6 separate regions of the Homo sapiens genome follow, and all the other regions are linked to region 2. Evidence: promoter capture Hi-C in 16 types of primary human blood cells and fetal thymus (Javierre and others, 2016). All regions are on one chromosome and are shown on one strand. The core of a region is centred on a gene start or on the middle of the fragment in contact, and the rest is flanking DNA. Distances in the headings are between cores, read along the strand shown. Region 1 overlaps CSTPP1 (centriolar satellite-associated tubulin polyglutamylase complex regulator 1). Region 2 holds the start of CSTPP1 (centriolar satellite-associated tubulin polyglutamylase complex regulator 1). Region 3 overlaps CSTPP1 (centriolar satellite-associated tubulin polyglutamylase complex regulator 1). Region 4 overlaps CSTPP1 (centriolar satellite-associated tubulin polyglutamylase complex regulator 1). Region 5 holds the start of PACSIN3 (protein kinase C and casein kinase substrate in neurons 3). Region 6 holds the start of LOC124902671 (a long non-coding RNA gene).

Region 1 (4,399 bases), core at 1,873-4,372, 130 kb before region 2:
TCAACACTAAGAGAAAATCATTCACAACATTTCAGTAAACCTCCTTCCAAATATTTTTGTATGCATGTAAACATATAAAGACATAAAGATACATAATTTTATATAAATAGTACTCTACCATCATGCTGTTCTCACAATAAATATAAATGTTCAGTGTCTGCCTAGAATATTATCACATATTTGCTCATCATTGCTTTCTGAATTTAATTTTACTTTAAAAGTAGAAACATACTTTCAAGAAATTATTGGACAATTAGCATAATACATAAGGCTCTGATCACTGAAATTATATATTTTTCAGACTATGAATTATTTTGTCATCACATCTATTGTAATTATAAGTTCATTTTTTATCCATATATGTGTGTGTGTATATATATATATTTTCTAATTAAAAGAGCTGGAATACATCTATATATTTTAAAAGATATTGGTCATCTGGTAAACACTTTTGTGGACTACTCATTAATCCTTATATGTTTTGTTATACATCTTTCCTGAGGTTTCAATTAGCTAATATATCCTCACATTCCTTCTTCAAGTGACAAAGCTGATGATAATTACTTTCCTATATCGGTTTCATCTCAATTGGATGGCCTCTTGTTTAAACGATAGTGGTGATGGTAAAGCCTACGTTATATAATTTGTCCATGTAAAATCCATCAAATTGAGTTTTTGAGAAATGGTAATTTACAGCTTTAAAGGTTCTGTTTGGTCCTGTGCATCTAGAAAAACAGCTTGCAACCTACTAAGTTCCTTCTGGTCATGCCAGATGAGAATTTCCAGACCGTTTTTCAAATCAGGGCAAGGGGAAAAGAACAGAACAGGGAATCCTTGGCTGCCACAGCCAGCTTCAAATAATTCAGTGTGCTGGGAACAGCAGCCAACTGGGTGCGACTGACTGCACCCTTGCACCAAAGCCAGAGAACAAAGATGAAGGGTGAGGAAATTAAGGAGATTCTTGAAGTGACTTCCCAGGAGGAATCTCAGACCAGCCACACCCAGTCCCTTCATCTTAGTAAATAACTCAGCAAAACTGCAAATGGGCTTAGTGGAGTCCGTGAAGGAACCTCTCCCACAGAGTGGGGGATTTCTTCCTCACTGCTGCTACATGCAACTTCCCAAACCCAAGCTTGCCTGCAGGGGAAGTGTGTGCTCTCCCCAAGTCACAGCATGTTTATTATATGATGCACAAACAAACAGCAAATAGTCCTTGGAGGGTTTTCTCTATTTCCTGGCAGCAGAAAGAGAGCAGCTGTCTTACAGTTTAACTGGGGTTTTGGCCTTTTTAATACAGTTTTTAAAGTTTGTAGTGGAAATCCTATTTTCTATCTTTATCTGATGGTTAAATTGAAATTTGAAGTGCTCCTTCCAAGACAGGCTGAACTGATTGGTAGTGGACTATATAAGTAAGCACGACCCAGCAGGCATTCATTATTTTATTCACCCAGTATTTATCAAGCACCTACAATAAGCAAGGTTCAGAATGGGGATCCAAAGATAAAATATGCAGTCTTTGCCCTCAAGGGAGCTAACAATGATCATTATCACAATGATAAAAGCAACAGACTTTGACAGAGCAGTTATTACATACCGGGATTACTGAAGGCTCCAGTCGGTTATCAAATCTAGTTTTCACAACACTGAAGTAGTATATTCTCCATTTTATAGATGAGAAAACTAAGGCTTGGAAAAATTAACCTGACCATGGTCACACAGCCATATCCAATAAAAAAGGCACCTGAACCTAGGGCCATTTGACTCTAAAGTCTTTCTCTTTAGTGCCTCACACAGAAGTAAACAGATAGTTGATATTACAAATTTACAATCTAGATGGGGAAAAAGGAAAGATAAAAATCCACTTATTCTTAATTCCACATGGCATTTTATGAAAGAGACTATGTATCTGCCAATAACTAAATATAAGGTATGATAGGACAAATGCCCTAAGAGGTCGCTTTTGAATGGAGGCAGGGGAGGGCAAGGACAGGAGGAAATGGGAATCTACTTGAGCTGGGTCTATTTGAGGATGGGCAGGACTGTGACAGACAGACATGGGGGAAAGTTCTACATGGTGGGAAAGCAAAAACAGAGGTGTGAAAGGGGGAAAGCACAAGGAGTGTTTGGGGAAAGTGTTTCTGTGTGGCCAGAGTATAGTCTATAAGTAGGAGAGTAGTGGTTGGAAAGCTGGTGTTGGGTCATGAGTAGCCTTATGATAGTCATAAATTCATATTTCATTAGTAGGCAATACAGAACCATTGAGGTTCTCAGCAGCAGTGACAAGACCAGGGCTGTGCTTCAGAGAATTACATTTCCAACTGTCTTGCAGGAGTTCTCAAGCTTCAGTGTGTATGAGAACCACCTGCAGAGCATTTAAAATGCCTGGGTCCCAACCAAAAAGATTCTGATTAAAGTGGTCTGGGGAGGGACCTAGGCAACAGTATTTTTTAAAAGCACCCTAGCTGATCCTAATATGCAAGCAGGGTTGAAACCGCTTAATGTTTCCCAAACTTGAGTGATCCTAAGAATCACCTGAAATGCTTGTTAAAATTAATTCCCAGGCCCCTTGCCTGCTGGCTGTGGTCGAGTACGTTTGAGGTGGGATCAAGGAATCTGTCTTTTTGACAACCTCCCCAAGGTGTCTAATTAGGTTTCTAAATTAGGGTCAGGCGGTATCAGTGGGAATCAAGAGCAGGTTATGCCAAGCAAAATAAAACTGGAAAATATTAAATTTTCAACATTATTTATATTTGCTTTTACATACTTCCAGCTCTCTCTCTCTCTCTCTCTCCCCCTCTCTCCATCCATCCACCCACCCTGTTTGAGATGGTGTCTCACTCTGTTGCCCAGGCTGCAGATCAGTGGGTATTTACAGGCACATTCATAGTGCACTTATGTTCTCCAACTCCTGGGCTCCTGGGCTCAAGTGAGATTACCGGCATGTGCACTGTGCCTGGCTTGGTAGATCTACTTTAGAGAATGCGTTTAATAACGTTGTGTGTTACAGTCTCACTTCAGCCTAACTTTAAAATTAAAAAGCAACAACGGCCGGGTGCGGTGGCTCATGCCTGTAATCCCAGCACTTTGGGAGGCCAAGGCGGGTGGATCATGAGGTCAGGAGTTCAAGACCAGCCTGGCCAACATGGTGAAACCCCCGTCTCTACTAAAAACACAAAAATTAGCTGGGCATGGTGGCACATGCCGGTAATCCCAGCTATTTGGGAGGCTGAGGCAGGAGAATTGCTGGAACCAGGACCCAGGAGGAGGAGGTAGCAGTGAGTGAGATCGTGCCACTGCACTCCAACCTGGGCTACAGAGTGAGACTCTGTCTCAAAAAAAAAATAATAATAATAAAATAAACAGCAACAACAACAACAATAAAACTCTTGTATTTTCAAAGAACTTCCAAAATCTGCTTATTATGTCCTTCAAAGCATGAAATATCCAATAAACAAGTATTATACGTCCCTCTCTAATAAGAATTATTATTTTTAAATTTTAAACCAGGTGGAGTAACTATTTTTTCTCTTGAAGATAGGTAAAATGGAACTTAAAATTAAAGAACTTGTAGCTACTTTACCTTCATCTGTAAAACAATGAAAGAAGAAATAAAATCACATGGGCAATGCATTCTTATGCCTTAACTACTACAATTACGTTTTGGGCTACAAAATCATACATTCATCTCAGAGACTAAATGACACAAAATGTATATGTTCATTTAGCAGCAGAGCATGATAATGGCTAGAACATTTGACTGACAACCAGAAGACCTGAATTTAGTCTTGGTTTTACAGGTCCTACCAAGTGACTAGGAGACCTTGGCTTTGATTTTTATATTTACACAATGGGGAAGGGTTGAAGTAGATCAGTAGTTTTCAAACCATGTTCCACAGAAGCTTAGAAATTTGCAGAGGCACTTAGAAGTTTCTATAAAAGTTTAATTTCAATTCTTATTAAAAACATACTTTTATTTAAAGTCTATAAGAAAAACAAAATGTACACTAAATATGTTACACAGTAAATTTTAATATACACACACTATCAACCTGTGCTCATAGGTTAACTCATTTGTGGAATTTCTCCTACTCCACAAATATATATATATATTTGCAACTGTAAATGTGCCACTGATTAGGAAATTATTATCTGCTCTGGTCTTTTTATTTTCTTTTTAATCCAGGACTATATTGGCATGAAAGCTGAGATTACATAAAATCTTTATACTGGATGAGAAGACAGATGTTGTCAAGCTCTCCTTTTACTTATATGATCTGGTATAGAAGCAAATGCAAAGTAAATTTATTATTTTATAAAATGCTTGATAATTATAAAATGGAAGTCTTTAAGTGTTAAGATACTAACAAAGTAGTATAAGGTAGTCATATTTGTACGGTGA
Region 2 (4,562 bases), core at 1,744-4,243:
TACTTTTGGGAGGCTGAGGATGGATGGAAACTGGGCAGATGGAGGCAAAGGGGTAGGCTTTTCACTAAAAACATCTACCTATCTATCTATCTATCTATCTATCTATCTATCTATCTATCTATGCATTTTAGAGGCAGGGTCTCACTCTATCATCCAGTCTGGTCTTGAACTCCTGACCTCAAGCAATCCTCCTACGTCAGCCTCCCAAAGTATTGGGATTACAGGCATGAGCCACCATGCCAGGCCTAAAAAATACTTTGAATCAAGTTTCCATATTACCAACCTTAAAAAATATTTTAAAATTAATTTTTAAAATAAGTTAAACAAAATGTAAACCAGAATTGTTTTTCATTTAAAAAGATGTTGGCTGGGCGCGGTGGCTCACGCCTGTAATCCAAGCAGTTTGGGAGGCCGAGGTGGGTGGATCACCTGAGGTCAGGAGTTTGAGACCAGCCTGACCAACATGGAGAAACCCATCTCTACTAAAAATACAAAATTAGCCAGGCGTGGTGGCGCATGCCTGTAATCCCAGGTACTAGGGAGGCTGAGGCAGGAGAATCACTTGAACCCAGGAGGCGGAGGTTGGGGTGAGCCCAGATCGCATCATTGCACTCCAGCCTAGGCAACAAGAGTGAAACTCCATCTCAAAAAAAAAAAAAAAAAAAAAAAAAGATGTAAGCCAGGTGCAGTGACTCACACCTGTAATCTCAGTACTTTGGAAGGCCACAGTAAGAGGCTTGCTTGAGCCCTGGAGTTCAAGACCAACCTGGACAACATAGTGAGACTCTTTCTCTACAAAAAATTAAAAAATTAACCAGGGATGGTGGCATGTGCCTGTAGTCCCAGCTACTTGGAAGGCTGAGGTAGCAGGATCACTTGAGCCCGGAGGTTGAGGCTGCAGTGAGCCGTGATAGTGCCACTGCACTCCAGCCTGAGTGACAGTGCCAGACATTGTCTCAAAAAAAAAAAAAAAGAAGAAGAAAAAAAAAAAAGATGTGCATGGTACATCCATACAATGGAATATTATTCAGAAATAAAAAGAAATGAGTTATCATGCCACAGAAAGACATGGAGGAAACTTAAATGCTTACTGCTAAGTTAAAGAAGCCCATCTGAAAAATTTACACACTGTATGACTCCAACTACATGATATTCTGGAAAAGGCAAAACTTTAGAGACCATAAGATCAGTGGTTGGCAAGGGCTGCAGGGGGAGGGAGAAGGATCAATAGGTGGAGCACAGGGGATTTTTCAGGACAGTGAAACTATTCTGTATGATAATGGAATGGTGAATACATGACATGCATTTATCAAAACCCACAGAACTGAACAACACAAAGAACCCTAATGTAAACTATGGACTTTAGTTAATAATATGTATCTATAATAATATATCTATATAATAATAATAATATATAATATATTATTATATATTATAAATATATATGTTTATCCATTGTAACAAATGTACCACACTAATGCAAGATGTAAATAATAGCGGAAACTGTGAGTGAGGGAGACCCAAGGTATATGGGAACTCGCCGTACTATCTGCTCAATTTTCTGTAAACTTAAAACTTCTCGCCATGTGCAGTGGCTCACGCCTGTAATCCCAACACTTTGGGAGGCCGAGGTGGGCGGATCACCTGAGGTCAGGAGTTTGAGACCAGCCTGACCAACATGGTGAAACCCCGTCTCTACTAAAAATATAAAATTAACCTGGCGTGGTGGCGCATGCCTGTAATCTCAACTACTCGGGAGGCTGAGGCAGGAGAATCGCTTGAATCCGGGAGGCAGAGGTTGCAGTGTACTCCAGCCTGGGCAACAGGAGAGAAACTCTGTCTCAAAAAACAAAACAAAACAAAACAAAACGTCTTTAAAAAAATAAAAGTCTATGAATTATTTAAAATGTGTATTGTGGCCGGGCGCGGTGGCTCACGCCTGTAATCCAAGCACTTTTGGAGGCTGAGGCGGGCAGATCACGAGGTCAGGAGATCGAGACCATCCTGGTTAACACGGTGAAACCCCGTCTCTATTAAGTATACAAAAAAGTAGCCGGGCGAGGTGGCGGGCGCCTGTAGTCCCAGCTACCCGGGAGGCGGAGCTTGCAGTGAGCCAAGATCGCGCCACTGCACTCCAGCCCGGGCGACAGAGCTAGACTCCGTCTCAAAAATAAAATAAAATAAAATGTGTATTGTGTGCATATGTGTGTGTGTGTACATATCTATGCGTGTGTGTGCCTTTTTTCATTCATTAAATGCCTTATACACTAAAGATGCTCAACAAAGTACTACATATACAGTCTTAGCTCAAGAGCCAAGTCAATATCTCAAGTTCTGTTGGAGTGGGCAAATCCGGTTCTGATCCTAGCGCTACCATTTTCTAGCTGTGTGGCCTAACTTAACGCAAGTTACCTCTTCAGCCCCAGTTTCTCCACCTGCAAAACTGGAAGAAAACACGGTAATTCCTCCTAGGGCTGTTGAGAAATTCAAATGAAGAATGATGCATGAAAAATGCTTAGCACAGTGCCTAATGAAAAAGAAAAGCTCGAAATGTTCGCTGACTGATTTGGCACTTGAGGTTCCAAGGTTATTCTTACTCCACTACCAGCATATCAATAATACCCCAACAGGGCCCCAAATCCTCAACGCCAACCTGACCCATTTGAACACAATCCACATTGCCTGAGTTCCAGCCCCTACACTTCAAACATTCTTTACTTCCCAGGTGCTTTTTTCCTTCCTGCTCGGCCTTACAGGCTCAGGCCCTGGAACCCCCGCCTCTCCGCCCCTCCCCATACCACCCGGACCCGATCCCACTCAGACCCCGCCCCCGCCTCCTCCCAGACCCTGGCCTAATTCGTCTGCACGTCTTTCCCTCCCCAAAGTTAAAGGGGGTTCCTACCCAGATACTCGTAGTCCGGTAGGGCTAGGCGCTCCGGACTCAGCATCCTTTGACCGGGGTGGCTTCAAAGCTCCAGCTCTCCGGCTTCCGGAACCCAGGTTGCCGTCTCTCTCCGTTGCCATGGCACCCACGCGGCGGAAGGGGGACGGGAGCTGGAGGAGGTGTCACACAAACAGTCTCCGTGTCGCAAAGTGGAGCTGGCCACTCAAGTTCCGGGGGCAGTCGCTTCACGATGGTCCAGGTTTCTTTGGACTCCCATTCTTGAAGACTTGGTTTTAGAGGAATCTGAGATGAAGAATTCTTTTGAATCCGTTATGTTTCCCAGTGTCGAAGAATTACTGTCAGCCGCCCATATACGCAGTTTCTGAATTTCATAACTATCCCTGCTTTTATACACTGTTTATCCTAACTCAGTAATAGCCCCCGCCCTTTGGCCCCCATAAACACTTAGTATCCCATTAGCTATTTTTATCTCTTTGGTATTTACTATCTTAAATTGCTACAAAGTGCTTACGTATGCATATACCCTGGATGCTTCTAGAGGTCAGAGATGTGTCTTTTCTGCCTATGACGGCTGGACACACAAAAGGTACTCATTAAGTCCTCTGAACTAATTGCCATTTCTTCTCAATTCTCACTCAGTCGCCCAGGCTGGAGTGCAGTAGCGTGATCTCGGTTCATTGCAACCAGCGCCTCCCGGGTTCAAGCGATTCTCCTGCCTCAGCCTCCCAAGTAGCTGGGATTACAGGCGCCCGCCACTCCGCCTGGCTAATTTTTTGTGTTTTTAGTAGAGATGGGGTTTCACCATGTTGGCGAGGCTGGTCTGCAAACTCTTGACCTCAGGTGATCCGCCGACCTCAGGTGATCCGCCTGCCTCAGGCCTCCCAAAGTGCTGGGATTACAGGCGTGAGCCACCGCGCCCAGGCTCAATTCCTTTTTATCTTTGGTTCTTCTTTCTATTCCTAGCCCTTACTATTTGGTACCTTTCCCAGGTGTCTTTCCTTTTTCCTACCAAGACATTGCTCTTCTTGAGGGAGAGGGGCTGCAGAAACGAGGACACCAGTTAGATTTTTTTCCCTATATGCCCAATTGCTCACTTCTTCTTTAAGAGAATATTCACTGGTTTTCAAGTTCCTAAATATTTCTTTTCGCCCCTCTCCACTCCTGACAACAGGTCAGAGATCTGTAGCACTAGACACAGTTCAGACATAGCAGAAAAAGCCACTCTGTCCTCACTTTTTTAGTGCCCTCCCCCTCCAACAAGGTGAGGTTTGTGAAAAAGAGACAAAGAAAACAAAATCAAGCTATCAAAGGAATGACTGGGAAACCAGTAGACCACCTACACTGGGAGGAAAAGGAAAGAGGAGGTTCTTCTCTTTGTGTTCCGAGTGGCCTATTCTTAGCGTCCTCCAGTAAGGAGCCTCAAACCTCCTAATTCTTGCTTTCCCTTAAAATTGTATATGTGTCTCAATTCTAGGCTCCTGTGAGTCACTCTAAGTTTGGATGTGGTGAGGTTAAAAGGACAGAGCCAAAGTAGGAGCAGGGCTTAGTGTCTTGAGGCAAATTTACTAATTTGGTATTTGGTGTGAAGTCCAGCAAATCTGATTTTTTTTTAATTGCCTTCTTATCTGCTTCCCCCATCTAGCTTGAGGTTATGGGA
Region 3 (4,352 bases), core at 31-2,530, 180 kb before region 2:
ATGATTCCCAAGGCTCTTTTAAGTTGTGAAGTCATAGATTGGATCAACTTCCAAAGCTGAGAATAATGGAATTTTTTTTCAGGTATCTGTACCTTACACAGTAATATCTAGTCAATTTAAAACTTAACTAATAGGCAATGCCAAATATCTAAATGTCAATAAGTCTCCAAGTAGGCAAGAAGATTTCATGAAGTCCACATACAAAAGCTCGTGTGGCTAACTTACAGGGTTCCAAGACATACTCTGATTATACTCGCAGTTTTAACAAGCTTGGCCACTAGTTTCTAAGCCCAATACAGATTAGACAGGGTAAACAAGGAGAGGAAAAAGAACTATAATTAGGCATTAACTACATGACCTAACAGAGAGGCAGAAAAATATATTTTAAATATAATCTGGATACATTTAGGGTACATTTCAGTGGGTCCTGAAGGCAATGATCTTTTCCAGCAGAGTAAAATAATTTATGATGACAAAGATGATGCTTAGATGCCTAGAGGAGTTAAATTACATAAGATGGCAGGGAAGGCCACTGTATACGTATCATATACATTTTAAAAAGATTTCCATGTAAGTTATATTAAAAACAACAAAAAATGTAACCAAATTTAAACTATAAAATAGTAGGCTGTAAAACTGTAAAACTCTTCTGCGTCTTTGGATGTTTACTGTCTCTAAACCATTTATTGATCACTGCTTCTGTAGTGCTTCATGGTGTTACCTGTTTTTAAGCTGCTGTACTGAGTGCTGTGCATCATTACTCTCATTGAATGTCTCGCAGCAGTCCTATAGGGTAAGTACTGTCCTCATTTTACTTGCAGACACAGGGCAGTGAAGTAATTTGCCCAGTTACGTAACTAGCAAGAGGCAAGCACATTCGAGCTTTGAATCATGGATCTGCCAGATTCCAAAGCGCATGCTTTTACATATTCCACTATTTATTGGTGGTTGAATTATTGATTTATTTGTCTATCTGACCCATCACCACCCCATCATTGTTCTCAGCATTGGAAGTTAGTCCACCCTGTGACTTCACAACTTAAAAGAGCCTTGGGAATCACAGGATCATAGATCAGGCCTTTTGCTCTGAAGTAAGTAATTGACTATCTCCATTTTACAGATAGAGAAACTAAGGCTTAAAGAGTAAGTGGCTTGCTCAAGTGAGGTAGTCTGACAGAGTCAAGGCAGGGTTCCAAGGTCCCATTAGACCAAGTCTTGAGGGTAGGGACTCCATCTCACTTGCTTATACATATCAAGGGGACTGGCACACAGTACACAGTTAAAAAAACGTTCAATGAATTTTATCCCTATGCCTCCCTATACAGATGTGAAACCCTAAAAGCAATGTAGTATATCTCAATGCATCTCAACATATGATCATGAATCACCTGTACCCTAAACCCACAGAAGCAAAATCAGAATCCCTGGGGTCAAGAGAGTGAGAATCCACATTTAATTAAATAGCTCAGGTGACTCTTAGGATTGTCCTCATGGTTGAAAGCACATTTTTTGGAGTTAGTCAATCCTGGGTTCTGGGTTCATAGCTCAGCTCCACTGGTTACTAGACAAATGATCTGGGGCAAGTTAGTTACTTAAATTTTTTGAGCTTCAATTCCATCATCATTAAGATGGGGATAAGGCCGGGCATGGTGGCTCACGCCTGTAATCCCAGCACTTTGGGAAGCCAAGGTGGGCAGATCATCTGAGGTCAGGAGTTCGAGACCAGCCTGACCAACGTGGAGAAACCCTGTCTCTACTAAAAATACAAAATTAGCTGGGCGTGGTGGTGCATGCCTGTAATCCCAGCTACTCGGGAGGCTGAGGCAGGAGAATTGCTTGAACCCGGGAGGTGGAGGTTGTGGTGAGCCGAGCTCGCACCATTGCACTCCAGCCTGGGCAACAAGAGTGAAACTCCATCTCAAAAAAAAAAAAAAAAAAAAAAAAAAGAAGTGGGCAGTGTTCCAAGATGGCTGAATAGGAACAGCTCCGTTCTGTAGCTCCCAGCATGACCTATGCCGAAGATGGGTGATTTCTGCATTTCCAACTGAGGTACCTGGTTCATCTCACTGGGACTCATTGGACAGTGGGTGCAGCCCATGGAGGGCGAGCTGAAGCAGGGTGGGGCGTCGCCTCACCCAGGAAGCACAAGGGGTCGGGGAGTTCCCTTTCCTAGCCAAGGGGAGCCGTGACAGACTACCTGGAAAAACGGGACACTCTCCGCCCAAATACTGTGCTTTTCCCAAGGTCTTAGCAACTGGCAGACAAGGTGATTCTCTCCTGTGCCAAGCTTGGCAGGTCCCACGCCCACAGAACCTTGCTCACTGCTAGCGCAGCAGTCTGAGATTGATCTGCGAGGCGGCAGCCTGGCTGGGGGAGGGGCATCTGCCTTTGGTGAGGCTTGAGTAGGTAAACAGAGCGGCTGGGAAGCTCAAACTGGGCGGAGCCCACCGCAGCTCTACAAGGCCTACTGCCTCTAACTCCACCTCTGTGGGCAGGGCATAGCTGAACAAAAGGCAGCAGACAACTTCTGCAGACTTAAACGTCCCTGTCTGACAGCTCTGAGGAGAGCAGTGGTTCTCCCAGCACAGCGTTTGAGCTCTGAGAAAGGACAGACTGCCTCCTCAAGTGGATCCCTGACTCCCATGAAGCCTAATTGGGAGACACCTCCCAGTAGGGGCCGACAGACACCTCATATATAGGTGGCTGCCCTCTGGGACGAAGCTTCCAGAGGAAGGATCAGGCAGCAATATTTGCTGTTCTGCAGCCTCCGCTGGTGATACCCAGGCAAACAGGGTCTGTAGTGGAACTCCAGCAAACTCCAACAGACCTGCAGCTGAGGGACCTGACTGTTAGAAGGAAAACTAACAAACAGAAAGGAATAGCATCAACATCAACCAAAAGGTCATCTACACCAAAACCCCATCTGTAGGTCATGAACATCAAAGACCAAAGGTAGATAAAACCACAAAGATGGGGAGAAACCAGAGCAGAAAAGCTGAAAATTCTAAAAATCAGAGCACCTCTTCTCCTCCAAAGGATCGCAGCTCCTCACCAGCAACAGAGCAAAGCTGGACAGAGAATGACTTTGAAGAGTTGACAGAAGTAGGCGTCAGAAGGTTGGTAATAACAAACTTCTCCGAGCTAAAGAAGAATTTTCGAACCCATCGCAAGGAAGCTAAAAACCTTGAAAAAAGATTAGTCAAATGGCTAACTAGAATAAACAGTGTAGAGAAGACCTTAAATGACCTGATGGAGCTGAAAACCATGGCACAAGAACTTCGTGACGCATGCACAAGCTTCAATAGCTGATTCGATCAAGTGGAAGAAAGGGTGTCAGTGATTGAAGATCAAATTAATGAAATACAGCAAGAGGCCAGGCGCGGTGGCTCACACCTGTAATCCCAGCACTTTGGGAGGCCGAGGCAGGTGGATCACGAGGTCGGGGGTTTGAGACCAGCTTGACCAACATGGTGAAACCCCGTCTCTACTAAAAATACAAAAATTAGCTGGGCGTGGTGGCAGGCACCTGTAATCCCAGCTACTCAAGAGGCTGAGGCAGGAGAATTGCTTGAACCTGGGAGGCGGAGGTTGCAGTGAGCCAAGATCGTGCCATTGCACTCTAGCCTGGGCGACACAGTGAGACTGTCTCAAAAAAAAAAAAAAAAAAAAAAGAAAAGAAATACAGCGAGAAGACAAGGTTAGAGAAAAAAGACTAAAAAGAAATGAACTAAGCCTCCAAGAAATATGGGACTATGTGAAAAGACCAAATCTATGTTTGATTGGTGGACCTGAAAGTGATGGGGAGAATAGAACAAAGTTGGAAAACACTCTGCAGGATGTTATCCAGGAGAACTTCCCCAACCTAGCAAGGCAGGCCAACATTCAAATTCAGGAAATACAGACACCACCACAAAGATACTCTTTGAGAAGAGCAACCCCAAGACACATAATTATCAGATTCCCCAAGGTTGAAATGAAGGAAAAAGTGTTAAGGGAAGCCAGAGAGAAAGGTTGAGTTACCCACAAAGGGAAGCCCATCAGACTAACAGTGGATCTCTCGGCAGAAACCCTACAAGCCAGAAGAGAGTGGGGGCCAATATTCAACATTCTTAAAGAATTTTCAACCCAGAATTTCATATCCAGCCAAACTAAACTTCATAAATGAAGGAGAAATAAAATCCTTTACAGACAAGCAAATGCTGAGAGATTTTGTCACCACCAGGCCTGCCTTACAAGAGTTCCTGAAGGAAGCACTAAACATGGAAAGAAACAACTGGTACCAGCCACTGCAAAAACATGCCAAATTGTAAAGACCATCGATGCTTTGAAGAAACTGCATCAATTAACAGGCA
Region 4 (4,775 bases), core at 661-3,160, 150 kb before region 2:
AATTAGCCAGTGTTGTGGTGCATGCGTGTAGTCCCAGCTACTTGGGAGGCTGAGGCAGGAGAATCGCTTGAACCCAGGAGGTGGAGGTTGCAGTGAGCTGAGATCGTGCCATTGCACTCCAGCCTGGGCAAGAGAGAGACGCTGTCTCAAAATAAATAAATAAATAAATATTACTAAAATTTATTTTTACTAGTCCTGTTCTTAGTGCATTACATGCAGTGCAAAAATAATCCATTCATTTTGGTGTACAAAACAGATGTAATTAATGTAGTCATATGTGGTACTTCTTTTTCTGTGTTTTCCAGGAATCTAAGAAATCATGAGTTTATCTTGTCCTACCCACACCGGTTTCATAGTAGGGACCATGTATATTAATTGTATATGTATATTAAGTGTAGACTATTAATAGTAGAATAACAACTGCCATTTATGGAGCACTTATGTGCTAGGCACTGTACTGAGTACTTTTTAGATTGTTGCAGTTTTAAGATATGCCCACAAAATTCTATGATACTCCCCCACTTCAAGAGGTGGATCCTAATTCTTTTCCCCTTGAATATGAGCTAAACTTAGCAACACGCTTCTAATGGAGAAAATAAAACAAAAGCGACAGAATGTGATGTCAGAGGCCAAGTGATAAAGGCACTGTGGCTTCCTGCTTGCTCTCTTCTTCTAAGACCACTTGCTCTGGGGAAGCCAGTTCCTCATATCACGAGGATCATGTGCTAAAGATCTGAGGCCTCCCACATGACTGAGCTTAGAAGCAGGCCCTCCAGATCCATTCAAGCCTTTAGATGACTGCAGTCCCAATCAAAATCTTGATTTCAACCTTAGAAGAGACTCTGAGCCAGAACCACCCCAGTAAGCTGCTCTTGGATTCCCAGCCTTTAGAACCTGTGTGAAATAATAAATGTGTATTGTTTTAGGCCCCCAGGTTTTTTGGGGGAGATTTATAACACAGAAATAGATAACTAATTCACACACACACACACACACATACATTTGACATACACATATATATTTGAGTCTCGCCATGTTGCCAGGCTGGAGTGCAGTGGTGCGATCTCGGCTCACTGCAACCTCCGACTCCCTGGTTCAAGTGATTCTCCTGCCTCAGCCTCCTGAGTAGCTGGGATTACAGGCCCGCACCACCATGCCCAGCTAATTTTTGTATTTTTAGTAGAGATGGGGTTTCACCATATTGGTCAGGATGGCCTCGATCTCCTGACCTTGTGATCTGCCCACCCTGGGCCTCCCAAAGTGCTGGGATTACAGGTGTGATAATACACATATATTATCTTTTATGTTCTCACAACCACATGGAATATGTAGTATTATCTCCATGCAAATGAGGAACAAAAGGCTCAGGTGGTTAAGCAATTTACTCAAAGCCACACAGCTAGTAGTGATAGATCCATGACATTAAGGCCATATTCTTTGCTCTGTATTATACCATTTCTTTTTAGGTTCTGTTTTTTTCAGTCAGCTTATTAGCTATTGTTCCCAAATTTAATTAGCCTGCTATCAATGCTCTTATGCAAATAATGATTTTTTAAAAAAGCTTGGCTAAGTACATAGTCCAGATTTACACTCCTGGAGAATTTCAGCATGACAGGAACCCATTAATCAGCACACTTTAAGTATGACTATTCAACCAGCCTATATCATCCAGCCTATATTCCTTCTCCTTGTTCGCAAGGATGTCATGGAGATGTTGTCAAAGTCTTGTAGAAATCCAATTTAGCTAAACAAATATACTAAATATAGCTATACTAAATATAGCTATACTGTACAGATTTCTGTCAACTTACCAATGTAATAATCTCTTCAAAAAGGGAGTAAGTTTACATTGTCTACTCCCGTTCCTTCTCCGTCAGTATTATTGTCATTACCATCATTCACCCCCTTCACAGTTATCACTGCTTTTGATAAATAAGCACTTTATACACATTATTTAATTTAATCATCAGGACTACTCTATGAAGTAGTTTCTCTTATTTCAATTTTACCAATAAGGAAATCTAGCTTATAGCAATTAATAACTTGCCTAACATCATTTTACTAAGAAGTAAAAGAGCCAGGGTTGAAATCAAGTCTTCTTTACCCACTAAGCCTGGAATCTTTTCCTATTCCTTTTCCTTCGCCTCCTGTCCCTTCCCTTCCCCTTTATTATCTTCTCTTCCCTTCTTCCTTTCCCCCTTTACCCCCTACTTCCTCCCCTTTTCTGTCTCCATCTTCAATAAATTCTGGTAAGCTTATGGTGATCCCAACTTCCTTTTCTTAATTTATTCTTTTTAAAAAATTTTTTTTCCACAGAGTCTCACTCCATCACACAGGCTGGAGTGCAGTGGCGCAATCTTGGCTCTCTGTAACCGCTGCCTCCCGGGTTCAAGGGATTCTCCTGCCTCAGCCTCTCAAGTAGCTGGGATTACAGGTATGTACTACCACAGCCAGCTATTTTTTTTTTTTTTTTTTTTTTTGGATTTTTAGTAGAGATGGGGTTTCATCATGTTGGCCAGGCTGGTCTCAAACTCCTGACCTCAAGTGATCCGCCCGACTCCACCTCCCAAAGTGCTGGGATTTCAGGCGTGAGCCACTGTGCCAGGCCTCTTAACTTATTCTTGTTCATAAGTAGTTTAAGAATATTACCTAAGATGGATGTCAAGTCTGCTGAAGTGACCTCCTGAATATTAGTTCCTTGACTCTAATCTTCTGAAATTTCTATCCATCCCCGACCCCCATCCCCTAATTCCCCCTCCCCATGCACACTTTCTCAGAGACTGCCAGCAATGCTTCAGCCAGCTCATCCACTAGTCCTCAGTATCTTTTTTTTTTTTGAGACAGAGTTTCACTCGTCACCCAGACTAGAGTGCAATGGTGCGACCTTGGCTCTGCTTCCTGGGTTCAAGTGATTTTCCAGCCTTAGCCTCCCTAGTACCTGGGATTACAGGTGCCTGCCACCACACCCAGCTAATTTTTGTATTTTTAGTAGAGACGGGGTTTCGTCATGTTAGCCAGGCTGGTCTCGAACTCCTGACCTCAGGTGATCCACCCACCTCAGCCTCCCAAAGTGCTGAGATTTCATGCATGAGCCACTGCGCCCAGCCTAGTCCTCAGTATCTTGAAATATAAGATTAAGGAACTTGAAATCATTTAAAGCAGTTGCATGACCTATTTCAATCTCAACTACGTTTGACTGCATTCCCTGGAACCAGTGTTTATTTTATCTTTTCCAGTCCAAAGAGTATCCTCTTTGACAGAGAAGACTAAACCAAAATAGAGGTGAATGCTCTATTTTCTTTCTTTCATTCATTAATATGATACCACCCACCTAGGCCTCCTTGTTCTTTTTGCTCCCAATGTAACTTTTTAAAAAAGCCTTTTAATATTGTCTTTAGTATTGTGTCACAATTCCTAGTTTTGTCATTGTTTCTAGAGTAGGTATATCTATACAAAAGTGAGCTTGGGGTTCAAAAATAATATTTCGGGTCTTACTGTTTGTTTGTTTGTTTGAGATGGAGTCTCGCTCTGTTGCCAGGCTGGAGTGCAGTGGCGTGATCTTGGCTCACTGCAACCTCTGCCTCTCGGGTTCAAGCAATTCTTCTGCCTCAGCCTCCCGACTAGCTGGGATTACAGGTGTCCACCACCACGCCCAGCTAATTTTTTTTTGTATTTTTAGTAGAGATGGGGTTTCTCCATGTTGGTCAGGGGCATGTTGGTCAGGCTGGTCTCAAACTCCTGACCTCAGGTGATCTGCCCACCTTGGCCTCCCAAAGTGCTGGGATTACAGGCGTAATCCATCGCACCCGGCGATTCTTAATAATTTCAATCCAATTCTCATCAGGCTTTTTTTGTAGAAATGAACCAGTTTATTCTAAATTTTATATGGAAATGCAAAGGGCCTTGAATGAATAAAACAATCTTGAAAAAGAAAAAGTTGAAGGGCATACACTACCTTAGATCAATGGAACAGAATAGAGAATCCAGAGATAGATATGCACATATTAATACATGGTCAATTTATTTATTTATTTTTAACAAAGGAACCACAACAAGTAGGAGAAGGAAAGTCTTTTCAATAAATCATACTGTCTCAACTGGCTATCCATGAGGGGAGCGGGGAAAAACCTTGACCCTCAATCTTAAACTACCAACAAAAAATAATTCAGGATGAATTATAGGCCTAAACATAAAAGTTAAACCTCTATTGCTTTTAGAAGGAAATATAGGGTAACACTGTCACAGCCTTAGGGTAGGCAAAGATTTTTTAGACTGGACCCAGAAGGCATTAACCATAAAAGAAAAAAAATGCTAAAAAATTAAAACTTCTGCTCAATAAAAGACATCACTAAGGAAATAAATAAAGAGGCCACAGAGGGAGAAAATATTTGTAATGAACATATCTAACTTGTAACCAGAATGTGTAAAGAACTCCTACCACTGGATAATAAAAAGACAAACAACCCACTAAAAATTGGGCAAAATATTTGAAGAGACACTTCACAAAGGAAGATATACAAATGACCAACAAGCAGTAAAAAGTATTCAACATCATTAGTCATCAGGGAAATGCAAACTAAAACCACAATGAGATTTCATTTCACAACCACTAGAATGGCTAAAATGCAAAAGACTGACAATACCAAATGTTAACAAGCAATTGTAAAAACTGGAATTCTCATACATTGCTGGTGGGAATGTAAGATGGTACAACTGTTTTAGAAAGCAGTCAGTAATTCAACCCTTAGGTATTTACCCAAGATAAATGAAAACAT
Region 5 (4,438 bases), core at 1,622-4,121, 250 kb before region 2:
CAATCTGCCCATTGGTACCCTGAGCCAAATGCCTTGCTAGATTTGTCTTTTTTTCTTTTTGAGAGAAAGTTTCCTTCGACCAGGCTGGAGAGCAGTGGCGCAATCTCAGCTACCTAAGCCTCCCGGGTTCAAGCAATTCTCCTGTCTCAGCCTCCCAAGTAGCTGGGACTACAGGCGTCCACGACCACGCCTGCTAGTTTTTTTGTGTTTTTAGTAGAGATGGGGTTTCATTATTGGCCAGGCTGGTCTTGAACTCCTGACCTCAGGTGATCCACCTGCCTCAGCCTCACAAAGTGCTGGCATTACAGGCGTGAGCCACTGTGCCCAGCCTTAGATTTCTGTCATTTTTTTTCTTTTTCTTTTTGAGATGGAGTTTTGTTCTTGTCGCCCAGGCTGGAGTGCAATGGCACGATCTCAGCTCACTGCAACCTCCACCTCCCAGGTTCAAGCGATTCTCCTGCCTCAGCCTCCTAAGTAGCTGGGATTACAGGCACCCGCCACCATGCCCAGCTAATTTTTGTATTTTTAGTAGAGATGGGGTTTCACCATGTTGGCCAGGCTGGTCTCAAACTCCTGACCTCAGATGATCCACCCGCCTCGGCCTCCCAAAATGCTGGGATTACAGGCGTGGGCCACCGCGCCCGACCAGATTTCTGTCTTTATGCAGCCCTCTGTCCACTGACATCTCATCTTGAACTCTGGGTTGAGGACAGCACTGATGGAGCAGTGTGGATGTTAAGGGCTCTGGCCATAGAGCGCAGAATGGGAGCCCTGGGGGTAGCATTAGCTTGGAGCTGGCTTTCCAAAGGCATGTCTGTCTACTTTCAGCTTAGAAGCAGCCCCCTATGCTCTGGGTTTTATTTTGTTGTTTTTTTTCCCCTACAGTACCTCAGGGGCAATTAAGATCAGCTGCAACATTTCTGCTTTCTGCTCCCAGACTTGAGCCCAAGGGAAGCCAGATGTTTTCCAGTCCACATCCCCTTCTCTTTGTGGTCTGATGAACAGCCCTGTTTTCTGAGTCTCTCTATGGCCTGGCTTTCCCAGATCCCACAGCCTGGCTGCCAACTTTATTTTTAATGAGGTTTTAATAGGTGGCTCCTGTAATTAATTTCATTCTTGTGTTTTCACACTTCGGTCTAGGTGCCTAAAGGCCTTCAGGCGCTAGGAGGGATGTTAACTGATTTTAAAGAATACAAAACCCTGTGGCTGTGATTTGCCATTTTCCCAGCTCCTCTGATCTGCAGTTGTTTTTTACAATCATTAATTAGCTGGGGCTCATGGCTCAGCGGAAGGTCAGCTGGTCACCTGTCATGTTTTATAGAGGTAGAAATAGAGATAAGGGACTTGTCCAAGCCCTAAGAGAGAGTGGGTGTTGAAATTGGTCTCAGAAACCACATCCCAGGTTTCAGATTCACTACTCAGCTATGATTTGCCAAACACGGCCAGAATCCTCAGGCCAAAGGTGGCGCGCCTTGGGTGCCCCACAGGTGTCTTGGGGAGGCAGTTTTACCCTTCCATTAGCACTGCCCAGCAAGTGAGCCCTCGGCAGGCAAAATTACCCCCATTCATTTTCTCCAGGTCCCTTTCCCGTTTTGTGAGCGGATTCATCTGCGTAAAGAACGCGTCAGTGATTCCTCCTGGATTTAGAAACAACATAATTTTGCTATTTTTAAAGCTGCCGTTTAAAACTCCGCGCGCACGCACTCACACTCTTCAGGGAGCTGAGGGTGGGAGGAAAAGTACGAGCTTCAGAGGGCGCAGCCAGGCGCCTCAGCTTCCCAGGGCTCAGAGCCGCGTCCCTGGGGGCGCACTCCTCTGAGAGCGCCGGGGCTCTCCGACCCGCTGCGATTCTGCGCGCCCGGGACCTTCTGCGTCCGGGACCTTCTGCGCCCGGGCGTTCGACCCCGTTGGTCCGCGCTCCCCCTGGTCTTCAAGGCTCAGGGCACCGCCGCTGGGTCACCGGGCCCAGGAGAGAGTGGGAGGGGCGGAGAGGCCGAGCAGGTGGCGATTAGGTCAGCTTCGGAACATTCTTGGACCGCTCCAGTGGATATAAATAACAGACGGAGCCGCTCTGCAAAATCTCACCCCCGGGGGAAAGCGGGGAGAGGGAAGTAGGGAGAGAGGAGGGAGAAGGGATTTATTTAGCGTGGGGTGGCATCGTGGCGATATGGAAAAATGTACCAGACTGATAAAGGGGGTGGAGGGGCGAAGGGTAAGAATGAATCGTGGTACAAAATCTGGAAATAAGAACTCGGAGCGGGAGGAGCTTAGGCCTTTTTGTCCCACCCCCACCGCGTGTTCGTCTCAGGCCTTAGAAGGCGCCCCAGATTAGCAGGGCAGCTGTGGAACGGTAGGGCACGGTTTTGGAGTCCCAGCCCTGCCTGACTAGAGGGAAATCTTGGGCAAGCCTCTGAAAAGCCCCCGAGCCTCAGTTTTTGCATCTGTACAGTGGGAATCCTAATGCTTACAAGGGGTGGTTGTGAGCCTCGCCTGAGCCAATTTCTAAACAAGCTGTGCAGCTAAAAATGTAAGGCAGTGTAATTCCCCCGGCCCCTCTCCAAGGCTGCCCGTGCCGGCCCGGTCCCTTCTTGCTCCCTCGGGTCTCCCAGGCTCTGCAACGGTCCGGGAGAGGCAAAGCCGAAATCTGGCTCCCTGCGGCACCGGGGCGCAACCCTGGGGAGCCCGCCCAGGCACTCCGCACACGGGCGAAGCAGAGAAACCTCGACCCGCGCCACAAGAGCCGCTGGTCGCCGCGATGCCTGCAGCCCCGCTGCCCCGCCGCGTGGGGTTGAGGCAGCGGCGGCCAGGAGAGGGGCGGGGCCGGGGGCCGGGGGCCGGGCTTCCCGGGGGAGGGCCCGGCGCGCTCCGGGAGGCCGCGGCGCGGGCCCAGGAGCGGCAGGACTCGGGCCGGAGCGTGGCCGGACCCCCACCCGCCGAGGGGCCCAGGGAGGACGCGGTGAGTGCCCTGGAGGGGACGCGCGGGTAGGCGGCGGCGGGTGCGGTGGCTCGAGCCCGCCCTCTCCTGCTCCGGCTTCTGAAGTTTGCAATGGAGCCGACTCCCGCCCAGGGAGCCCCCGGCCACCCCGCTCTGCGTGCCGACGGGAAGGGCCGTAGCCGCGCCGAGGGGCCGTCCCATCTGCGGTGCCGCGGGCTTCGCAATTCCGCAGGCCGCCCGGGGGAGGCGGCGCCGGCGCTGGAGGGCTGAGCCGTCTTCAGGGGCCCCTCGAGGGCCCCCGTCCGCTCGCCTCGCGCCCGCCCCGAGGCCCCAGAGGGTCCTCGCTCCCTGGCGATCCCTCGCCCTATGCAGCGAGCCCCGATTCCTGGGTCCGCTGCCCGGGGCCACCATCTGGAGCCCACGGCAAGGCCGGCCCAGGCAGGGGGCGTCCCCTCCCCTTGGCGGTGATCAGTGGCCCCACCCCCGCCAAGACCAAGTTCAACAAGTTTGGCCAAGAAGTCTAGAGCTTCGGTGGCTAGGCCTGGCCCTGCCGCTCCGCGTGGCTCCACGGGCTCCGAGTTATGCAGCTCCGGGCGGCAAGGGGTCCTGTCGAGGGGCGCGGTCCATAAGGGTTGAGGCCAGAGGCGCGTAGCCTCTGGGCGCCGAGCTCTGGAGTGGAGGCTGGGGTTCGGAGTGCGTCATCTGGAAGCAGGCACCCCGGCCGGCAGGTCGGGTTTCCAAAAGTGCCCCTTTGTTATGCCCCTCCCTGGCCCTGCCTCCTCCCGCTTTGGCTGCGCCACCCCCTCCCCCAGCCTCCTGATCTCCTGGCTGGCTCTGGCTTCTGGTTCCAGCCCCTCTAACCTCGCTGTCCCTCTTCGGACCAGCCTACTGACGCCCCCTCCCCTCCCCCCCGCTCTGTCCTCAAATCCTAGAGCTGCGGGCGCACCGGGAGGGGCTGCCCGGGAAAGAAGCCCTTGGGCGCAGCCTGTGACTCAGGTTCCAGGGATGGGCCAGGCAGAATGGCTGAGCTCCCTCCCAGGGGCAAGCCCCCAGCTTCTGGAAGAGGTTGGGGCTGGTCTGGGGCCGGGTACCTTCAGGCCTCAGGTAGGGAGACTGGGTCTTCCCTGAACCAGGGACTTCCTACCTTGGCCCGTGCAGCTGCAAGGAGACCCTGCCAAGCCCAGGAAGACCTCTCGGAGCCGAACGTGCTGGCTCCCGGGGCTGGGAAGATTGCATTACCTGCTTTCTGAGCTCTTGCCTGCGGTGGGGACTGATTTGGGTCTCTGCTGAGCTCAGGAGGCACAGGGTGCCAACCTGCTCAATGGGGGCCAAGGTGCAAGCCCTCCTTGCTTGCTTGCTGAGAGGTCAGGCTGGGGCTGTGGGGCCTGGCTGCACCCGGGGCTTGGGCCTGTGTTTGCTCTGGGAGGCCGGAGGGAGCTGTGCCAGCCCGGTACACACAGCTTGCTCTGTTCTGGGGCCAGAGAGAGGGAAGGGGTGGGGGGC
Region 6 (4,629 bases), core at 234-2,733, 200 kb before region 2:
CCAACCTCAACTCTCTTCATCACAAGTCACTGCCAACCCTTGCCCCCTGATATGGTTAGGCTTTGTGTTCCCACCTAAATCTCAACCCGAATTGTAATCCCCAGGTGTTGAGAGGGAGACCTGGTGGAAGGTGATTGGATCACATGGGCAGTTTCCCCCATGCTGTTCTTGTGATAGTGAGTGAGTTCTGAAGACATTTGATGGTTTTATAAGCGTCTGACATTTCCCCTGTCTGTACTTCTCTCTCCTACCACCATGTGAAAAAGGTCCTTGCTTCCCCTTTGCCTTCCACCACGATTGTAAGTTTCCTGAGGCCACGCGGAACTGTGAGTCAATTAATCCTCTTTTCTTCATAAATTACCCAGTCTTGGGTAGTATCTTTACAGTAGCGTGAAAACACACAAATGCAGCCCCTCTTTTCTCAGAATATCCTCTAGGGTGTGTGTGTGTGGGGGTATTGGAGGGGTCTGGGCTTTTTCTGCCTCTTCATCTCACCACCCTCCAACTCTATCTTCAGACCCTGAGGCTCCCCACAGAAACCACAAAGGATCATTTCGCTTCCCTTTGGAAATGCAGAATGTATTATGTTTTGGGGCACATCCCAAATAGACCCCTCTCCCACTGCCAGTTTCTTCCCTAAATGCTCCTTTTTTTCATTTGTATACACTCCAGGTTTCTCTAGGAAGCAGTGGCCCACAGAGAGCTGAGTTGGTTTCAAGAGTCCAGGAGACGTACCTGGCTGCTTTCTGAGTGAGCTCCAGCGGGAAATCAGGACACAGTAATTGCAGCAAACAGTGATATTCTTTCATGGTCAGCAAATCTGAAGTGGAAATGGAGAGGAACACATTAGGTCTCTGCATTTCAAGTCACTGCCCTCTTTTTGTTCATTTCATGAGTTTCAGACCTGGTCTTGGTAGAGCTGTTCTTTTAAAAGCAAGTCAGTGTGAAGGGTATGCTAGTCTCTAACCTCCAGGTGTGAGATTTTAAGATCAGTATTTCTACAAAGCTTTTCCAGGGTGGGAGGCATCCAGTTACACCATTTTGACCAAAGGAGCTTCACTGGTATGAAAATTGGTCGGGTGAAGAGAGCAAACAAGAGAGGCACCTTCATCAGTCTTCTTTAGTTTGGTTTTCCTTGTATATAAAAATCTGGAAGAACAAGTCATTTCAAAGCCGGTTAAATTTGCTGAAATTCTCTGGCATGGTAACGTTTCCCACCACATGCCCAAAGACCATCCACAGAATATCTGGAAGCAGTACTAACGCAAACAGTCTTGCTGTGTAGGGAGAAGAGTACAGCATAGAAACCCACAGACCTCATTACTCTGTCATCCAGTACTGCAGCAGGCTGGCTTCTTTTGAATGGCTGAACACAAATCTGGTCATCCTATTATAGGAAGCCAAGACAAAGGTCCAAGATATACAGTCAAGGCAACCAAATGATTCCTGATATACAGAAGCAATGCTTTGTGCTTTGGGAGAGGTGAGCCAGGATGAGGCTCTGTGGTCCAGCAGAGAACCCAGAGAGGTGAATCTCAGAGAAATTTATAGGATCCTGAGGGAGAAGAAATACACTGATGCTTAAGTTATTTTGTTGCTGCATGTACTGAAGGCAAAAGATTTTAGATCAGCCAAGGAGTAAGAATGTGTAAGTATTATCATATATCAAAGCATTTCGAATATGGAAGGGCCTGGTAATGCTAAAGTGAGAGCAATCCACCCGGAAGCCTGCCTAATTGGGAGGAGGATGAGTGAGAGGAGGGAATCCAGAGGGCATGGCTACATTTGGGGAATGAAGATGATGATCACAGGCACTTGGTTTCTTTGGACCTAAGTTAGCCCAAGCCACAGGAATCCAGATCTCCTGCCCCCGTTAGTTTGGTTGATGCTTTTCCAAGACAAAAACCCCAAATCTCCAGGGAAAGGCCTGGGTTCCTAGTACTTTTTCATCAAAGCTTAATTCAAGGTGGGGACAGAGAGTTTGACTAACCACACTGCCAAAGTCAGAAACACCAAAGGAACAGACTCAGCGTCAATATAGGTCAAAGGATCAAGATGGTTTTGTGGCACTCTCCTCTTCCCACTTGCCTGACCTCGGGCACAGCCTGGCAGGAGGTCTTGTTCTTCAAGGGAGGGAGTCATTGCCACTCGTGGTCTCAGGCTTGGGGTGAGGAAAAAGGCGAAGGGAAGGGAGAAAATCCACTGAGTCTAATGTGTTCCCACTTTATTCTCACTCCAGAACTCCCCATGTAGAGAAAAGAGAAGAGTGATTTCTGGCAGGGCAGGGAGTAAATAAAGGAAAGTTCTATCTTTGAATCATCGTGCTTTTCTAGGCTAAACTTTGGTGGATATATCTGATAGCATTCTTAGGGAGAGTCAGAGTGTTTCATAGGAACTTACATTTATCCCCCAAATTACCTACAAAATATCCTTGGGAAGATAACAGAATGAAGGAAAATGAAAAAATGAGAGAGAGAGAGAGAGAGAGTTACTTAATTAAGAAAGACAATGCTAGGAGTCAACATTAGCTTCCTGGTTTCTAGACCCTAGGCCCTCTTCAGGTTTTTGATATTATTCTAACTCATGTACTTCAAGTACTTGCTTCCAAGGACAGAAGAATGATTTACAAAAATCACTGCGTGCTTCTCTAACACAACAAAAGCTCTTAAAAATATGAAAAACAGAATACATCCTGCTCACCACTTCTGGAACTTGACTCTTCTAAATGTTAAGTGAGGACAGTAGTCAGATAAAGAGATTAATGAAAATGCAAGCAAATAAACAACTTTTAATTGTGGAGAGAGTAGTTCTATTAGTTGTTATTATTATTCTTCCATGCAGACTCTGTGTTGGGATGTGGAGAGAGGAGTTCTAATTCTACTGAAGTAGTGACCAGATAATGTCAAGGGCAGATGATTTCTGCTACTTCGAGACACTCCTCAGCTGTTGTACAGTGGGTATTGAGAGAACTATAAGTGGTAAGACTTATTTCAAAATCAGAACACTGATAGGCATATGGGAGCTTGTTCCCTTTCTGCTCCATAGGCTAGGATTCAAATTTTGGCTCTGCGATTCACCAGGTATGTAATCTTGGGCAAATTGCTTAATCTCTCTAAGTCTCAGTTTCTCATCTGTAAAATGCAAGTGACACTGACACTTCTCAGGGTTAAAGTCAAGTGTAAGAGAGATGATGTCTATAAAGTGCTTAGCAGAATGTCTAGAACTTAGTAACATCAAACAATGGGAGTTTGTTTTGGTTCTGTTTTCAAATTCTGGAGGTGAGAAGAAGAGAGGAGGAAGGTATTTGTTGCTGAGTTTTTTTTATTTTAAATTTTAATTAATTAATTAATTAATTAGTTTTGAGATGGGGGCCTCACTCTGTTACCCAGGCTGGAGTGCAGTGGCATAGCTCACTGCAGTCTCGAACTCCTGAGCTCAAGTGATCCTCCCATCTCAGCCTCCCAAGTAGCTGGGACTACAAGCATATGCCACCACACCCTGCGCATTTAAAAAATTTTTGTAGAGACGGGGTCTCGTGCCGTCACCCAGGCTAGTCTTGAACTTCCCGCCTCAGCTTCCCAAAGTGTTGGGATTACAGGCATGAGCCTGGCTGTTGCTGAGTTTGGACACTTAAACACCTAAAAGTTTTCTGCCTTGAAAGTTCTCTGTTGGGTTGCCTGAGCCAAATCCGTTTTGAACACTCTCCTGCAGTGGCCACTCACTTCCTATTCCCATGTGCCTGCTCTGTTCCAGGCTCCCCATTATGATGAACAAGGTAGCAGTCCCCCTAGCTTCTGCAGCCTGCATTTGGGCACCAGTTCACCCTAATGCTCCTGTCTATTTTGGGCCCTTTGGCTCTTAGAACTGTCCAAGATCTCAAAGGCCCTTCTCACAGCCCTTTGTGCTCCAGCAATAACTGTAAAGAGAGTGAGTAGCCATGGAGATCTGTGCTCAGCTCTTGAATTAACTCACTTAGGCCAGGCGCAGTGGCTCACGCCTGTAATCCCAGCACTTTGCGAGGCCAAGGCAAGAGTTCACCTGAGGTCAGGAGTTCGAGACCAGCCTGGCCAACGTGGCAAAAACCCATCTTTACTAAAAATACAAAAATTATCCAAGCATGGTGGCAGGTGCCTGTAATCCAGCTACTTGGGGGGCAGGAGAATCTCTTGAACCTAGAAGGCAGAGGTTGCAGTGAGCTGAGGTCATGCCACTGCACTCCAGCCTGGGTGACAGAGTGAGACTCCTTCCCCCCTCAAAAAAATAAAAAATAAAAAAAAATTAACTCACTTAGCCTTCACAGCATACTACCTTATGAAGTAGACTCCATTATTTCCAGTCCCATTTCACAGATGAGGATGAGAAAGTTTAGAGGGATGAAATAAGCTGGTGAGCAAGGAAAGAGAGGAGGGTCCAGGGTAGGGGAGAGGAAGGGGACCTGTCTTCCCTGAGCAAGATCTCAGGGTGGGAGGGAGAGAAGGGAGGCTGATGGCAGGAGGGGCTTAACAATAACACAGCTAACATTTATTGAGCACTTGGTCTTGGGGAGGCACTGTTCTAAGGGGTTTACATATGTCACCTCACTAATCTTCACGACTATTATCCTCATTTCACAGACACAAAAACTCAGAT

Evidence for each region. The method cuts DNA at HindIII sites, captures the fragments that hold promoters and counts their contacts. A CHiCAGO score of 5 or more calls a contact.
Region 1: a fragment that was not itself captured here is called in contact with the fragment with the promoter of CSTPP1 in region 2 in 5 of 17 cell types (M1 macrophages, megakaryocytes, M2 macrophages and 2 more); the score reaches 9.7 in M1 macrophages.
Region 3: a contact is called between a fragment that was not itself captured here and the fragment with the promoter of CSTPP1 in region 2, in 6 of 17 cell types (M1 macrophages, megakaryocytes, M2 macrophages and 3 more). The highest score is 8.7, in M1 macrophages.
Region 4: a contact is called between a fragment that was not itself captured here and the fragment with the promoter of CSTPP1 in region 2, in 6 of 17 cell types (megakaryocytes, M2 macrophages, M1 macrophages and 3 more). The highest score is 13.6, in megakaryocytes.
Region 5: the fragment with the promoter of PACSIN3 here is called in contact with the fragment with the promoter of CSTPP1 in region 2 in 1 of 17 cell types (M2 macrophages); the score reaches 5.3 in M2 macrophages.
Region 6: a fragment that was not itself captured here is called in contact with the fragment with the promoter of CSTPP1 in region 2 in 8 of 17 cell types (M1 macrophages, megakaryocytes, M2 macrophages and 5 more); the score reaches 24.7 in M1 macrophages.

Annotation. Positions count from the first base shown.
Region 1 is chr11:47,068,660-47,073,058 of GRCh38, reverse strand. The region is part of intron 3 of CSTPP1 (centriolar satellite-associated tubulin polyglutamylase complex regulator 1); the gene reads right to left. Among named protein-coding and RNA genes, the nearest start is that of ARFGAP2, 110 kb to the left of the region's middle. The HindIII fragment of the contact is 1,559 bases long and covers 2,343-3,901 here.
Region 2 is chr11:46,935,192-46,939,753 of GRCh38, reverse strand. CSTPP1 (centriolar satellite-associated tubulin polyglutamylase complex regulator 1) reads right to left here and starts at 2,993. Exons shown (of 9, transcript NM_024113.5): 1 at 2,903-2,993. The coding sequence starts at 2,948. RefSeq lists an enhancer at 2,926-3,135. The HindIII fragment of the contact is 8,451 bases long and covers 1-4,562 here.
Region 3 is chr11:47,117,197-47,121,548 of GRCh38, reverse strand. The region is part of intron 3 of CSTPP1 (centriolar satellite-associated tubulin polyglutamylase complex regulator 1); the gene reads right to left. Among named protein-coding and RNA genes, the nearest start is that of ARFGAP2, 58 kb to the left of the region's middle. The HindIII fragment of the contact is 2,018 bases long and covers 272-2,289 here.
Region 4 is chr11:47,083,940-47,088,714 of GRCh38, reverse strand. The region is part of intron 3 of CSTPP1 (centriolar satellite-associated tubulin polyglutamylase complex regulator 1); the gene reads right to left. Among named protein-coding and RNA genes, the nearest start is that of ARFGAP2, 91 kb to the left of the region's middle. The HindIII fragment of the contact is 693 bases long and covers 1,564-2,256 here.
Region 5 is chr11:47,184,867-47,189,304 of GRCh38, reverse strand. It overlaps PACSIN3 (protein kinase C and casein kinase substrate in neurons 3), which reads left to right and starts at 2,871. Exons shown (of 11, transcript NM_016223.5): 1 at 2,871-2,956. RefSeq lists silencers at 2,773-2,872, 2,923-3,242 and an enhancer at 2,215-3,101. The HindIII fragment of the contact is 15,006 bases long and covers 1-4,438 here.
Region 6 is chr11:47,133,836-47,138,464 of GRCh38, reverse strand. It overlaps CSTPP1 (centriolar satellite-associated tubulin polyglutamylase complex regulator 1), which reads right to left. Exons shown (of 9, transcript NM_024113.5): 4 at 736-820. It overlaps LOC124902671 (a long non-coding RNA gene), which reads left to right and starts at 1,589. Exons shown (of 2, transcript XR_007062666.1): 1 at 1,589-1,648. The HindIII fragment of the contact is 949 bases long and covers 1,009-1,957 here.